Linked DNA regions of Homo sapiens: regions 2, 3 and 4 are each linked to region 1. The links are contacts of gene promoters, found by promoter capture Hi-C in blood cells and fetal thymus (Javierre and others, 2016). All regions are on one chromosome and are shown on one strand. The core of a region is centred on a gene start or on the middle of the fragment in contact, and the rest is flanking DNA. Distances in the headings are between cores, read along the strand shown. Region 1 holds the start of EREG (epiregulin). Region 2 has its middle 160 kb from the start of AREG. Region 3 has its middle 140 kb from the start of AREG. Region 4 overlaps MTHFD2L (methylenetetrahydrofolate dehydrogenase (NADP+ dependent) 2 like).

Evidence for each region. The method cuts DNA at HindIII sites, captures the fragments that hold promoters and counts their contacts. A CHiCAGO score of 5 or more calls a contact.
Region 2: a fragment that was not itself captured here is called in contact with the fragment with the promoter of EREG in region 1 in 6 of 17 cell types (total B cells, non-activated CD4 T cells, total CD4 T cells and 3 more); the score reaches 8.4 in total B cells.
Region 3: a fragment that was not itself captured here is called in contact with the fragment with the promoter of EREG in region 1 in 2 of 17 cell types (M2 macrophages and total B cells); the score reaches 5.4 in M2 macrophages.
Region 4: a fragment that was not itself captured here is called in contact with the fragment with the promoter of EREG in region 1 in 1 of 17 cell types (megakaryocytes); the score reaches 5.2 in megakaryocytes.

What each region holds. Positions count from the first base shown.
Region 1 is chr4:74,363,452-74,366,651 of GRCh38, forward strand. It overlaps EREG (epiregulin), which reads left to right and starts at 1,694. Exons shown (of 5, transcript NM_001432.3): 1 at 1,694-1,924. The coding sequence starts at 1,858. LOC105377276 (a long non-coding RNA gene) reads right to left here and starts at 1,890. Exons shown (of 3, transcript NR_188415.1): 1 at 1,700-1,890. The HindIII fragment of the contact is 3,301 bases long and covers 1-2,211 here.
Region 2 is chr4:74,603,519-74,606,718 of GRCh38, forward strand. No RefSeq gene overlaps it. Among named protein-coding and RNA genes, the nearest start is that of AREG, 160 kb to the left of the region's middle. The HindIII fragment of the contact is 191 bases long and covers 1,579-1,769 here.
Region 3 is chr4:74,586,662-74,589,861 of GRCh38, forward strand. No RefSeq gene overlaps it. Among named protein-coding and RNA genes, the nearest start is that of AREG, 140 kb to the left of the region's middle. The HindIII fragment of the contact is 248 bases long and covers 1,304-1,551 here.
Region 4 is chr4:74,185,191-74,188,390 of GRCh38, forward strand. All of the region lies in intron 3 of MTHFD2L (methylenetetrahydrofolate dehydrogenase (NADP+ dependent) 2 like), which reads left to right. Among named protein-coding and RNA genes, the nearest start is that of MTHFD2L, 29 kb to the left of the region's middle. The HindIII fragment of the contact is 718 bases long and covers 1,316-2,033 here.

The DNA of each region.
Region 1 (3,200 bases), core at 444-2,943:
TTTAAATCTTAACCCCTGATAACATGATGAAGTATTTGTTTCTTTTTTTTTTTTTTTTGAGACGGAGTTTCGCTCTGTCGCCCAGGCTGGAGTGCAGTGGCGCGATCTCGACTCACTGCAAGCTCCGCCTCCCGGGTTCACGCCATTCTCCTGCCTCAGCCTCCCGTGTAGCTGGGACTACAGGCGCGCGCCACCATGCCCGGCTAATTTTTGTATTTTTAGTAGAGACGGGGTTTCACTGTGTTATCCAGGATGGTCTCGATCTCCTGACCTCGTGATCCGCTCGTCTCGGCCTCCCAAAGTGCTGGGATTACAGGCGTGAGCCACCGCGCCCGGCCGAAGTATTTGTTTCTAACAAGAGCATTCTGGACATTAAAGGGCCTTAGAGTATGAGAGAAAAAAGCCAGAAAAAAAAAAGGAATAGTAATAATAATTTTTTAAAAAGTAGAAATAAAAAGGTAAGGAGTTAACATCCATTAGATTCCATTTTCTATTCAAATATGTATATTTACATACAGTACTGCTGAATTGACTCACAGTTCTTAGGTCCTATAGAGGAGTGCAGTGAAAAGGAAGACAATTTACACAGTACAGAGCTGAACATAGGACTTACAAACAAAAAAAAAGTCAAGGAATACAAAGTAGCTTTCCCAGGTGTAAAGTACCGGGTCTAGAATTCTATGAGGCTAGGGAGAAGATAAACGACAAAAGCTATAAGAGATCAGAATGAAAAGAGATCCACAAGCCTAAGAAGCCCAGGCCCTTGAGGAGAACCATGAATTTGAGCAGGATTTCACTAATTCCTTTAAAAAGTAGCCATTGCCTCAAAGTACGACTCCATCAGCATAGGCAGGAAAGTGGGAGTGAGGAAAGGCTTAGAGTTTTCCAGCCTGGCTGGGGTCAGACAATTTGCCTGGGGAAATAGTGGGAGCTGAGGTTGAAAAGACCGATTGGCTTCACGTTTGTGGCAGGCCTTGTCCAAAAAGCAATAGGAAGTCGTTGAAAGGTTTTGTGCAGGGGAGCGACAGGATTAAGGCACTACTTAGTAGGAAGTCATATCAAAAGCAGCAACCTGACAAATGGCAAATACGACAGAAGGAAAAAAAATAACAGGAATTTTCTTCACAATGACTCGACTTTGAGGTAATAAATGCCTGAGCCACATTGGAAGCAGGGGTCTCAGAAGGAAGGCGCAGATGGGAAAGGCTTTTCTGGGCGGTGGCGTTTCAATGCAAGGAGGGCGCTTGAATCACTGACAGACTTCAAGTTAAGGGAGTTTTCGTGGCTGAGGTTAGTAAGTCACACGCACAGCTCTCCAAAGGCATGTATGGGGAACGCCAGCCTTGGCTAAAAGACTGATTCAAGTTATGTCCGTCACCCTGAGCAACCAAAACCACCCACTACAGGGCAGGTGACCCCACAAAGCAAACCAAGCCATCTGGTCCACGCTCCCCACCTCCCGGAGGGAGATGGAAAAGTTTCGGGAGTAGTCCCCGGCCAATCGGAAAGACATTTTTTCATTCCTCAACCACTACTCTCAGGTGCTCCAGGGAGGGAGGATGACTTCCTGACGGTCCTCCTGCCGCTCCTCCCTCGGGCCAATTATGAAACTCTGGGCACTCTTGACCTCACCCCGTTAGGGCCCGGGAGGGGCTCCCTAGTATAAAGTTCGCAGCACCAGACAGTTGAGCTCACTTGCCTGATATTTCCAGTGTCAGAGGGACACAGCCAACGTGGGGTCCCTTCTAGGCTGACAGCCGCTCTCCAGCCACTGCCGCGAGCCCGTCTGCTCCCGCCCTGCCCGTGCACTCTCCGCAGCCGCCCTCCGCCAAGCCCCAGCGCCCGCTCCCATCGCCGATGACCGCGGGGAGGAGGATGGAGATGCTCTGTGCCGGCAGGGTCCCTGCGCTGCTGCTCTGCCTGGGTAAGTTCTCCCCCTCTGGCTTCCGGCCGCCCCAAAGAGGAGACAAATAAGGAAGGCTCCTGTGCATTTGTCATTCGACAAGTACGGAGTTGTCTCCAGGTTCAAGTGTGCTCTATTTAAAATTACGTCTTGTTTTGTGAGTCTGTCTTCCCCTATGGTGGGACTGGGGTGGGGGGGACTGGGGATCGATGTTAAAATGCTTTTTATTGGTGAATTAATTATTGGCATATATGTTATGCATGGATTGAAATATCTCCTTATTAAACAAAATAAAAAGTTGTTGAAAAAGCTTTTTTTTTTTTTTTGAAAAGTTGCCAGTCCTAGAAATCTAAAGGCCTGGAACGCACTGTTAACATTTCATGTCTTGTTCCTTTTTGTTGGAGAGTGGGGAATAGAAACTAGCGTAAGAAATTTTTTGGAGGGGGGAAAAAGCTTTTCTCCTCTGTCTTGCGCTCAGTTTTCTAAAACCTAGCCTGGTTTAGCTTTCCCGGAGGAGCTGGTATGCGCCAGTGCCAGTTGGCTGAGCTCCAGACACAAGAGAAATAAAACACTGGTCGAGGGTATCTGGAGCAGAAGGGCCCTGGGCAGGTCCTGGCGCTCCCCACCGCCCTTCGCCCCTACACCTGCTGCTTGCGTTTTTCCCTGCAGCCTCCCAAGCAGCCTCTGGAGCAAGCGTTCTGCACTTGCTGCTAATTGCACTCCATAGCCTGTGATCGCTGAGGGTATTTAAATGCCAGTCTTCCTATTTGAGATGATTTAGTTCAAGGGGAAAAATTTTCTAAATAGCCTTTCTGTTAAAAAAAAATTACTTCTTTCCAATTCCTTAAACTTCAGTTTAAGGAATTTGAAAGAGTTTGAAGTCGTATATGAATATCTTAATAAAAAAATAAAAGTTACCACCAGTCTCATATTCTCCCTGGAGTTGGAATGAGGCTGATTCCCCAGACACTCTAACTCTACCTGTGAAGGATGTGACTGTTAAATTATTATTTTGGCACACCTTATCTCAGGGGTTGAGAGACCTAATGAAATGCATACTATGCATAATTGAAACTTACAAGTCTAAGTCCAGGAACACAAGTGGAAACTAGATATGTGGTTTCTGCCAAAACTGAGCTAAGAAAGACTTGCTAGAAGATTCTCAGTAAACAATGTGGCTTTGCTGTCTTTGTTTTGAAAAGAATTAAATTAGAAAGGTGACAGTCTTCCTAGAGTTAGAAATTAACCTCGAGGTCAGAATAACTTAGCACTTATTATTTTCCCCACATGTAAGGTT
Region 2 (3,200 bases), core at 424-2,923, 240 kb after region 1:
TGCACTATGCAATAGTAGGTGGGCACCCACATCTCTAACATTCAGGTTGATTTCAAGCCTATGATTTAAAAGAATGTCGTCTTTGCTATCAATTAGAAGCCCCCAAATTCAGGTTTTATTCCTGTGATAAAACCATTTAAAAACTCTTCCTTGGATATACATCTCACCAAATTTCTTTCTCTCTTGCTCTCATATTTATTTCTTATGTTCTGGGTAGTATGCAGATTCTCACCTAAAGACTTTGGCATATCACAAGGAAGAGATAATAGTCATTTACCAAGTGAAAAAGAATAAAGAGAATTCACCTGTCATTTGCATAATTTCAACACAAAAAAATCAAAATCAGTCCATTTTGCTCTTTTAGAAACCAAGTTATAATACTAATATAACCATAAAGTATAAAATATTACATATTAATTATTATTGAGTACAATGCTCTAATACACACCCAAGTGGGCTCCCTAGCAATAATTGGCTAAGTGCATTTTAATAATTGCAAAATTAGAGAATGGATAAGAGGAAAATTAAGGGAACATTAAAAAATGTTTTCCTTTTTCATAAATTCAAAGGCAGTAATGTAATGAGATTATAGTTTTCAACATAAATATGCCTTATTTATTTTATCTTCTAATATTGAGGAAGTCACTCTTAGAACTGCTAAATTAAGTTCAGTTTTCTACCTGCACAGTTCTACAGCATGACAGGTAATTGGTACTTAATGTTTTTTTATTCTGCCTTATTTGATTTCTGAGGTAATCCATCAGAAATTGATTTAGTTTGACCTAGTACCAGTTACCTCCTCTAAAAAGAATTGTTTAATATAATTCAGTAAATGGAGCCATGATTACAAAAACATTATATAGGGCCTTGTTTTTGCTAATTATCCAGTCCTAAGTGTTAGACCCTTCCTATATGAAATGCAACATTTATTAACCCAAGAAAAGAGTAAACAGAAACTCCTGATTTACTGTATTGGTCATTTATTATCCATCTACCATTTACATTTAAATAAAAATAGCACTGTTTATTTGAGATATACTAAATGGATTGAGGTTACTTGGGATAGTTTGATCTTAGAATAGTATGCTTTGTCCAGAAATAAATCATCATTTTCATGTGGAAATTTTACTATTTAATTAAGATCCAGTTTTGACATATTTTTAAGGTACACTTTAAATTGCTTATTTTCTTACATTTGGATAATGATTAACTTAAGTGACTTGCTTTGTAAATACTTTGATCATCCTTTCCCAATTTTCAACATTTATGCATACCTCAAGTGTATTTTGTATCCCATCTTTGCCTGATTTTATATTACCTAAAAGTCAACTCAAAGGCCACTTCCGTTAGTGAAAAAAGTTCCCTAAACTGAAATTAATCACTCACTTTTCTGGGCTTTTATAGAAGTGAGATTTTTGTATTGTTTTATATTCTCATTTGTTGTTTTTTGATTACTCAGCCCTTGTACTAAAACTTATCATCTTTTTTCTTTAAATTACAGTGGCAGAATTTCTGAGATAAGTGATAAGATAAGATAGAGAAATTTCTAGAGGAGGGCAGCTATCTGTCTTCCATGGAAGCTTCAAAGGTGGGGCAAGATCACCTTGTTCTGACCTACATCTTCATAGACCCAGAGACCTAATTTTACCAGCAAATCAAAAGCAAGAATGAATGTAAGCACATTAATTTACATAGAAAATATACCTTTCATTAAATTACTCTACCCAACATATGGAATATGTACCTAGGAAAGCCAAATTATAATTTGAAGCTTGATATGCTAGCATGGAATCGAGTTTAAGGTCTTATATAACTTGACTATTTTAAGCTTTTAGGCTAAAACAGCCTGGTGAATTAATCTTCAAACCAAGACTGTCCATGTCAGGAAGGCAATCCTACTCTAAGCTTATTGATCAAGATTCCAAGTCCCTGAGGGGTGCTTTGATAGGCAATACCAATATTTTGTTTCTGTAATTCTGCTCTATCTATCTCCTTCGATGAACAAGCTACCTTACTATTGTCTTGAATTATATGACTTGAATTATATGACTTGAATTATTTTTCTGCTTTCGTCAATTAGGTTATTAACTTAAGTCTTAATGGTAATTTTCTTCACTTCATAGTTTTTTCTCTTCAAACTCTTGGTCATGTGAGATACAGGTGATGGAATCTTTCCCAGGTGTTCTTGTGGTCCTACTACAATAGTTACGGATGTTTAAATATTGCTTTCTGTAAAATCTCCAGTAAGCTCCAAATTAATCCACATCTCAGATCCAAGATGCCATCTATGGATTTAATCTATGGATTAAAGTAGACATCATCAATTTAATAATATTCTAACAGGACAAAAAACCACCAGAAAAATATATATATATATATATAGATTATAAGACTTATTCAGAATTAGAAGCATTAAAATGTGAACTTGTCTTAGAATGAGGGAAACATGGGACAAGAATAATCTATAATCCTTTAACTCTTTAATATCTTGGGAGTATTCTATAGACTGTCTTACTTGACATTAGGGTGTCCCTCTATTCTTGTCGTTTATCTGGCCAGTGTGTGTTTCTTCCCAGTCTCCCTTCATCCTTCTCATGAACTCTCTTTATCCAACATTCCCCCTCCAAGCCCTTAAATACTGGGCTTTTCCACATGTCTTTTGTTGTCACTCTTTCTTCTAGCATAATTAATTCTCCTTGAGGAATATCATCTTTGCCCAATACTTTACCAAATTATATATCGATAGCATTAATATTTTTAAATAAAATGTATTCATACTTCAGAAGTCTTTCAAAACTACAGGACCATGGTTATGGTAGACTACTGAAAATGTTTTGTGGAGACAAGCAGGACCAAATATAAAAAGGGTTCACCATTTCATTTAACCCCAAATTCCTATGGGATTGAGGGCCCTAAGGCCTAGTCATTGGGAAATGACATTTTGCATCATTCCTTTAAACAGCTGGCATCTGAGCTCTAACTGCTTGGCTCCTGCCCCCAAAATATTTATTCCCACTATAAAGAGTGCTCTCAGGTTTGCACAAATATAAGAGGCAGCTTTAGGATGACAAGGTCACTCCAATGAAGCTCAGCTCCACCCTATATTCCACTGAATCTCAGCCCAAGCATGCCTCTCTGCAGGGTGCCAAGAGAAAGAGCACCTGTGCACCTGTTTCTGCATGTGAATTTTCTGAGCCTAC
Region 3 (3,200 bases), core at 178-2,677, 220 kb after region 1:
TTGTGCTGCAAAAACATTACAAAATCCACAGGTCGACCATGCTGTTCTGCCTGTTCCCCTCCACAGCTCTATCTAGCTCTTGCCCCTTGTTTGTCTTAATTTCAATTATGTTATTTATTGTTTAGAATTTTTGTACTATGTAAGTTTAACTTCAAATTACTTTCATTAATTATGAAAAGTAACATTACAAACCTCTATATGGTCATCACCCAACTATATACAATCTTAACCTTTTGCTTATTGATATTTACTTCTTGTTTTGAAAAAGAAATGATGCACAGTATATTCAGTTAACACTCACTGTATACTCTTACCTTATTCTTCCCCTCTCTCCCCCAAAGTAATCCCTATCCTAAATTTTGTGTTTATCATTTCTGTGCATACTGTAATCCATAAATAATATGTAGTATTTTTTCATGTTTTAAAAATTACATAAAGAATATTATATTGTTCATACAATTCTACCACTCCTTTTGCTCCAAATTATTTCAGCTTTTTTTTTTTTTTTTTTGAGATGGAGTCTCACTCTGTCACCCAGGTTAGAGTGCAGTGGCGCGATCTTGGCTCACTACAACCTGTGCCTTCTGGGTTCAAGCTATTCTCCCGCCTCAGCTTCCCCAGTAGCTGGGATTACAGGCAAGCACCACCATACCCAATTATGTTTTGTATTTTTAGTAGAGACGGGTTTCACCACATTGGCCAAGCTGGTGTCAAACTCCTGACCTCGTGATCTGCCCGCCTCAGCCTCCTGAAGTGCTGGGCTTACAGGCATGAGCCACTGCACCTGGCCTATATTTAAGCTTTTTTGAGGTATAATTTATATATAATAAATTCCACTTTTAGGTGGTTCATTTTGACGAATTTTGATAATTATATCAATTGTTTAACCACCAATATAAGCTATAGAAAAATTCCTTCATCGGAAAAAGGTTTTTTGTGCCCCTTTGATCCCTGGTTCCTGTCCAGATCTTCCATGTAAGCATCAGGTAGAGGTGTAAGGAAAGAGTTGGCAGGAGAGTGCAGCCTTCTCCTATGGAAGCATACCACGCTAACACTCACTAGTAAGAATTCTATGGCAGCCATCTCTTCTCACTGCTGCGATAAATGTCCAACAGCTTGTTTCTGTCCTGCTGTCCTCAGAATGACCTGTCAACCTTGGGTCTTAGCTCACCAGGTGGCCTTGCAACCTCAGCTCACTAATGGGCTGCAAACATCATGATTTTGCAGACTCTCTGGTTTGTTCTCATTGTTAGAGTGGAAGGGGTTTTCTCTTGTGGCCTTCTTCATCTTAAGCGTAAGCCAAAGCTTCTTTAGATGGATAATAGTGGATATCAAACACTTTGTTGTGTAAATTATCTTGGGTGGAACAGTTTTATTTTAAATAGTCTATATTTATATTTGCACAAAGTTATGTATTGTGCAGTGGCCTGAATCTCCAGTGAAAAATTTTAGATCTCAATTTTAAGATGTGCTGGGTTTTTCAAAATTCTCCTAAGAGGTAAGCAGGTAAAAAGTAGGTAAAAATACTTATATCATGCACAACCCCTATAAAGCTTACATATTCCCAGATTCTAGTGGGAAATATAGGTTACCATATAGTGTCATACATTTTAGAAGAGAAGTAGTTTCAGAGAATTGTGAGAGAACAGAATATAAGTGTTTTGGTTAACCTCGGTATGCTGGGACTTCCGGGTTGATGCTTGGAAAAATAATTTCTTTCTAGTGCTCCATATCAGGCGTCAGCAAACTTTTCTGAAAAAGAACAGACAATAAACATTTTAGGTTTTGCAAGTCATATAATCTTTGTTGCAACTAATCAGTTCCCTTGTTATAATAAGAAAGCAGCCATAAACAGTATGTGAATGAATGGGTGCACAGTGTTTCAATAAAACTTTATTTACAAAAACAGGCAGTGGGCAGGATTTGGTGTACAGATCATAGCCTATAGACCTCCTCTCAATTGTGATCAATTACGTGTCCATCTAAAAACCATGTAATACGTAGTAAAGTTCAGAAATTGTCACGATGTGCAGTATATAGAGGTGAGTGACATAAGTATTCTGTCAAGAAACTCACAAACCAGAAGGCGAGAATGATGTGAAAATAAATAATTATAACAAAATGTATTAAGTGCTGTGAAGCATGTATACAACACAAAGCTAGGATAGAAATGAGTATGGAGGCAGGGTGCAGTGGCTCATATCTGTAATCCCAACAATTTGGGAGGCTGAGGAATGAGGATCACTTGAGCCCAGGAATTCTGAGATCAGCCTGGGCAACAAAGGGAGAGCCTGTCTCTACAAAAAATTTAAAAATTAGCCCATCATAGTGGTGCACACCTATAGTCATAGGTACTTGTGAGGCTGAGGTGGGAGGATCATTTAATCCTGAGAGGCTGAGGCTGCAGTGAGCCATGGAGATGCCACTGCACTCCAGACTGGGTGACCGACTGAGACCCTCCAAAAGAAAAGAAAAATAAATAAAAAGAAAAGGGAAGGGAAGAGGAAGGGGAAAGGAAAGGAAAAAGAAAAGGACTGTGGCTAAGGCCAGATGCAGTGGCCTGCAATCTCAGCATTTTGGAAGGCCGAGGTGAGTGGATCACTTGAGGTCAGGAGTCCAATACCAGCCTAGGCAACATGGCGAAACCCCGTCTCTAATAAAAATAAATTTTAAAAAAATTAGCTGGACATAGTTGTACATGCCTGTAGTCCCAGCTACTTGGGAGGCTGACATGGGAGGATTCCTTGAGCCCAGGAGATGGAAGTTGCAGTGAGCTGAGATGGTGCCACTGCACACTCCAGCCTCAACAACAGAGTGTGACTCCGTCAGAAGGAAAGAAATAGAGAGCGAGAAAGAGAGAGAGGAAGGAAAGAAGGAAGGAAGGGAGGGAGGGGAGAGAAAGAAAGATAGAGAAAGAAAGAAGGAAAGAAAAAGAAAGAGAGAAAGAAGAAAAGAAAGAAAGGAAGAAAGAAAGGAAGAAAGAAAGAAAGAAAGAAAGAAAAGAAAGAAAAAAAGAAGGAAAAGAAAGAAAGAAAAGGAAGGAAGGAAGAAGGGAAGGAAGCAAGGAAGGGGGAGAAATAAAGGAAGAATGTCTAAGTTACTTATAGGAGTAGAAAATATTTTGTTTGCCTACTGCTGGTCCCATGTAGCCACTCATCAACAGCAGAGTTCTAGAGATTTCAGACTTAGAATGAATCTTC
Region 4 (3,200 bases), core at 425-2,924, 180 kb before region 1:
CCTAAATATTTGAAAAGTAAATAGCATACCTCTAAATAACCCCTGTGTCAAATAAGAAAATGAAAGAGAAATTTGAAATTGTTTTGAACTTTTTGTGAAAATGTAACACATCAAAGTTTGTGGGATTCTATTAAAGCAGTACTTAAGGGAAATACACAGCACTAAACACATATCTTAGAAAAGAAAAAAAGGTCAGAAATCAGTAATCTCATCTTATACTTTAAGATGGTAGGAACATCAGAGCAAATTAAACACAACATAAAAACAAAAAAAGAAATAATAAAGAACAGAGTAGAAATTAATGAAATGTAAAATAGAAAATTCATAAAAATCAGTAAAACCAAAGCTAGACATATCAAGGAAAAGAATAGATACAACTGACCAATACCAGGACTTAGGGTGGTAATATCACTACAGATTCTACAGATATTAAAAGGGCAGTAAGGGAATATTCTCAGTAACATTATCCCAATTTGACAAGTTAAATGAAATGGACAACTTCCTTGAAAGATATACATTACCAAAGCTCACTCAAAAAGAAATGTCTTAATAGCTCTGTTAAGCAATTGACTTTGTAGTTCAAATCCATTCCACAATGAAAGCTCTATGTCCAGATGGCATCCCTGGTGAATTTTACCAAATATTTAAGGAAGAATAGTGATAAAGAAGAGGGAATGCTTTCTAACACATTTGAAGCCAGCATTACTCTGTTACTAAAAACCTTGCAAAGACATTACAAGAAAGGAGAATTATGAGTCGGTATCCTTCATGAAGATAGATTCAAAAGGTATTAACAAAACATTAACAAATCAAATCCAACAATTTAGAAAACAATTCATCATGACCAAATGTGTTTTCTTTCAGGAATCCAATACAATTTAACATTAGAACAGTAAACAATGTATTTTACCATATTAACAAGCTAAAAATGAAAATCATATAATCATTTCCATAGATACAGATAAAGTATTGGATAAATTTCATCATTAATTCCTGATGAGAAACTTTCAAGTAACTAATAATAGAAGAGAACTCTTTCAAGCTGATAAAGGGAATGTATGAAAAATCTATAGGCAACATCATAATTGATTATGAAACACTGAGTGTTTTCCTCTTACAATCAAGAAAGTCAAGGATGTCCACTATTACCATGTCTATTTAACATTTCACTGGAAATTCTAACTAGCACAATAAGACAAGAAAAGCAGATGACATGATTGTCCCATGGAAAATTCAAGGGAATCCATGAAAAAAAAAAAAAAAAAAAAACAGCTACTAGTACTAATAAGTGAGTTTAGCAAGATTGAAGGATACAAGCTTAATATAGAGGAATCGATTTTTATTCTGTATACTTTCAACCAGATATTGAAATTTTAAATATACATTTATAATAGCATCAAAAATATGAAATCCTTAGGCATAAATTTGACAAAAGATGGGGAAAACCTATATATATTAAAAACTACAGAACATTTCTGAGACAAACTAAAGGAGGCCTAAATAAATGGATTAATAAACCATGTTTATGGATCAGAAGACTAAATACTGTTAAAATACCAATTTTCCTCCAACTGATTTGTAGGTTCAAGGTGACCTTTGGTAAAAACTTGGGAGAAACTGAATAAAATTCATATGGAACTGCAAATGACCTAAAATGGTCCAAACAATTTTGAAAATGAGTAACATGGAGGATTAACATTGCCTGATGTCAAAATGAGTTATAAAGCTACAGTAAGCAAAGCAATGTAGTATTGGAATCAAGATAGAAAATCAGATCAATGAAACAAAATAGAAAGTCCAGAAAGAGATTCACACTTATATTGATAACTGATTTCTGACAAAAGTGGAAAGGCAAATAAGTACAGAAAAGAATGCGATTTTCAACACATAGTACTGGCTGGAACAATCAGATATTCAAATGCAAAAGAATATCTAGAAAAGAAATGCTAGAAATTAAAAACACTCTAACAGAAATGAAGAATGCTTTGATGGGCTCAACTGTAGACTGGAAATGGCCAGGAAAAGAATCAGTAAGCTTGAAGTTATGCCAGTAGAAATTTCTCAAAATAAAACACAAAGAGGAAAAAAACCCAAACCGCTCCAGAATAGAATGTCAAAGAACTGTGGGATATTTTCAAAAGGTACATGCATTTGGAATAGCAGGAGAAGAGAAAACAGGACAGAAAAAACTTTTGAAATAATCATTGCTGAAACTTTCTAAAAATAATGACAGAGAGAATAGCAAGAGCAAAAATGGTAAAAGTATTTGAACAGACACTTCAAAGAAGAAATACAAATGGTAAATAAGCATATGAATAGATGTTCAACATCATTAGTCATTAGGGAAATTCAAATGAAAAGTATTAACAAGATACTACTGCAAACCCATTAGAATGGCTGAAATTAAAATATCAACTGACTATACTATGTGTTGGTGATGATGTGGAGGGATAGTAACCATCATGTTCTCCTGTAGTGGAGATGCAAAATGGTACATTTTGGAAAACTGGAAAATAGTTTGGCAGTATCTTAAAACGTTAAATACACACACACACACACACACACACACACACACACACACTGGTCCAGCCATTCTGTGCCTGTGTATTTACACACACACACACACACACACACACACACACACATTGGTCCAGCCATTCCGTGCCTGTGTATTTCCCCAAAAGAAAATGAAACATATGTCCATACAAGTATTTGTATATGAATGTTCATAGAACCTTTATTTGTGATAACTAAAAACTAGAAACAACCCAAATGTTCATTAGCAGGTCAATGGATAAATAAACTGTGATATTCCATACAATAGAATACTACTCAGCAATATTAAGGAACAAAATATTGATGCATATTACAATATAGATTAATCTCAAAGTAATTATGCTGAGTGAAAGTATCTAGACAAGAGTATATACTCTGTGATTTCATTTAAATAAAATTATATGAAATGAAAACTAATGAATTGACAGCATATCCGTGGTGTATTAGTCTGCTTCATCTATCATAAGAAAATACCATGGAATGAGAGGCTTAAACAGCAGAAATGTATTTTCTCACAGTCTGGAGGCTGAAAGTGTGCAATCACGGTGCCAGCATGGTTGGGTTCTAGTGAGAAGTTTCTTCCTAGCTTGCAGACAGAGCCTTCTCATTGTGTCCTCACATGATGAAGAAAGCAAGTTTTCTGG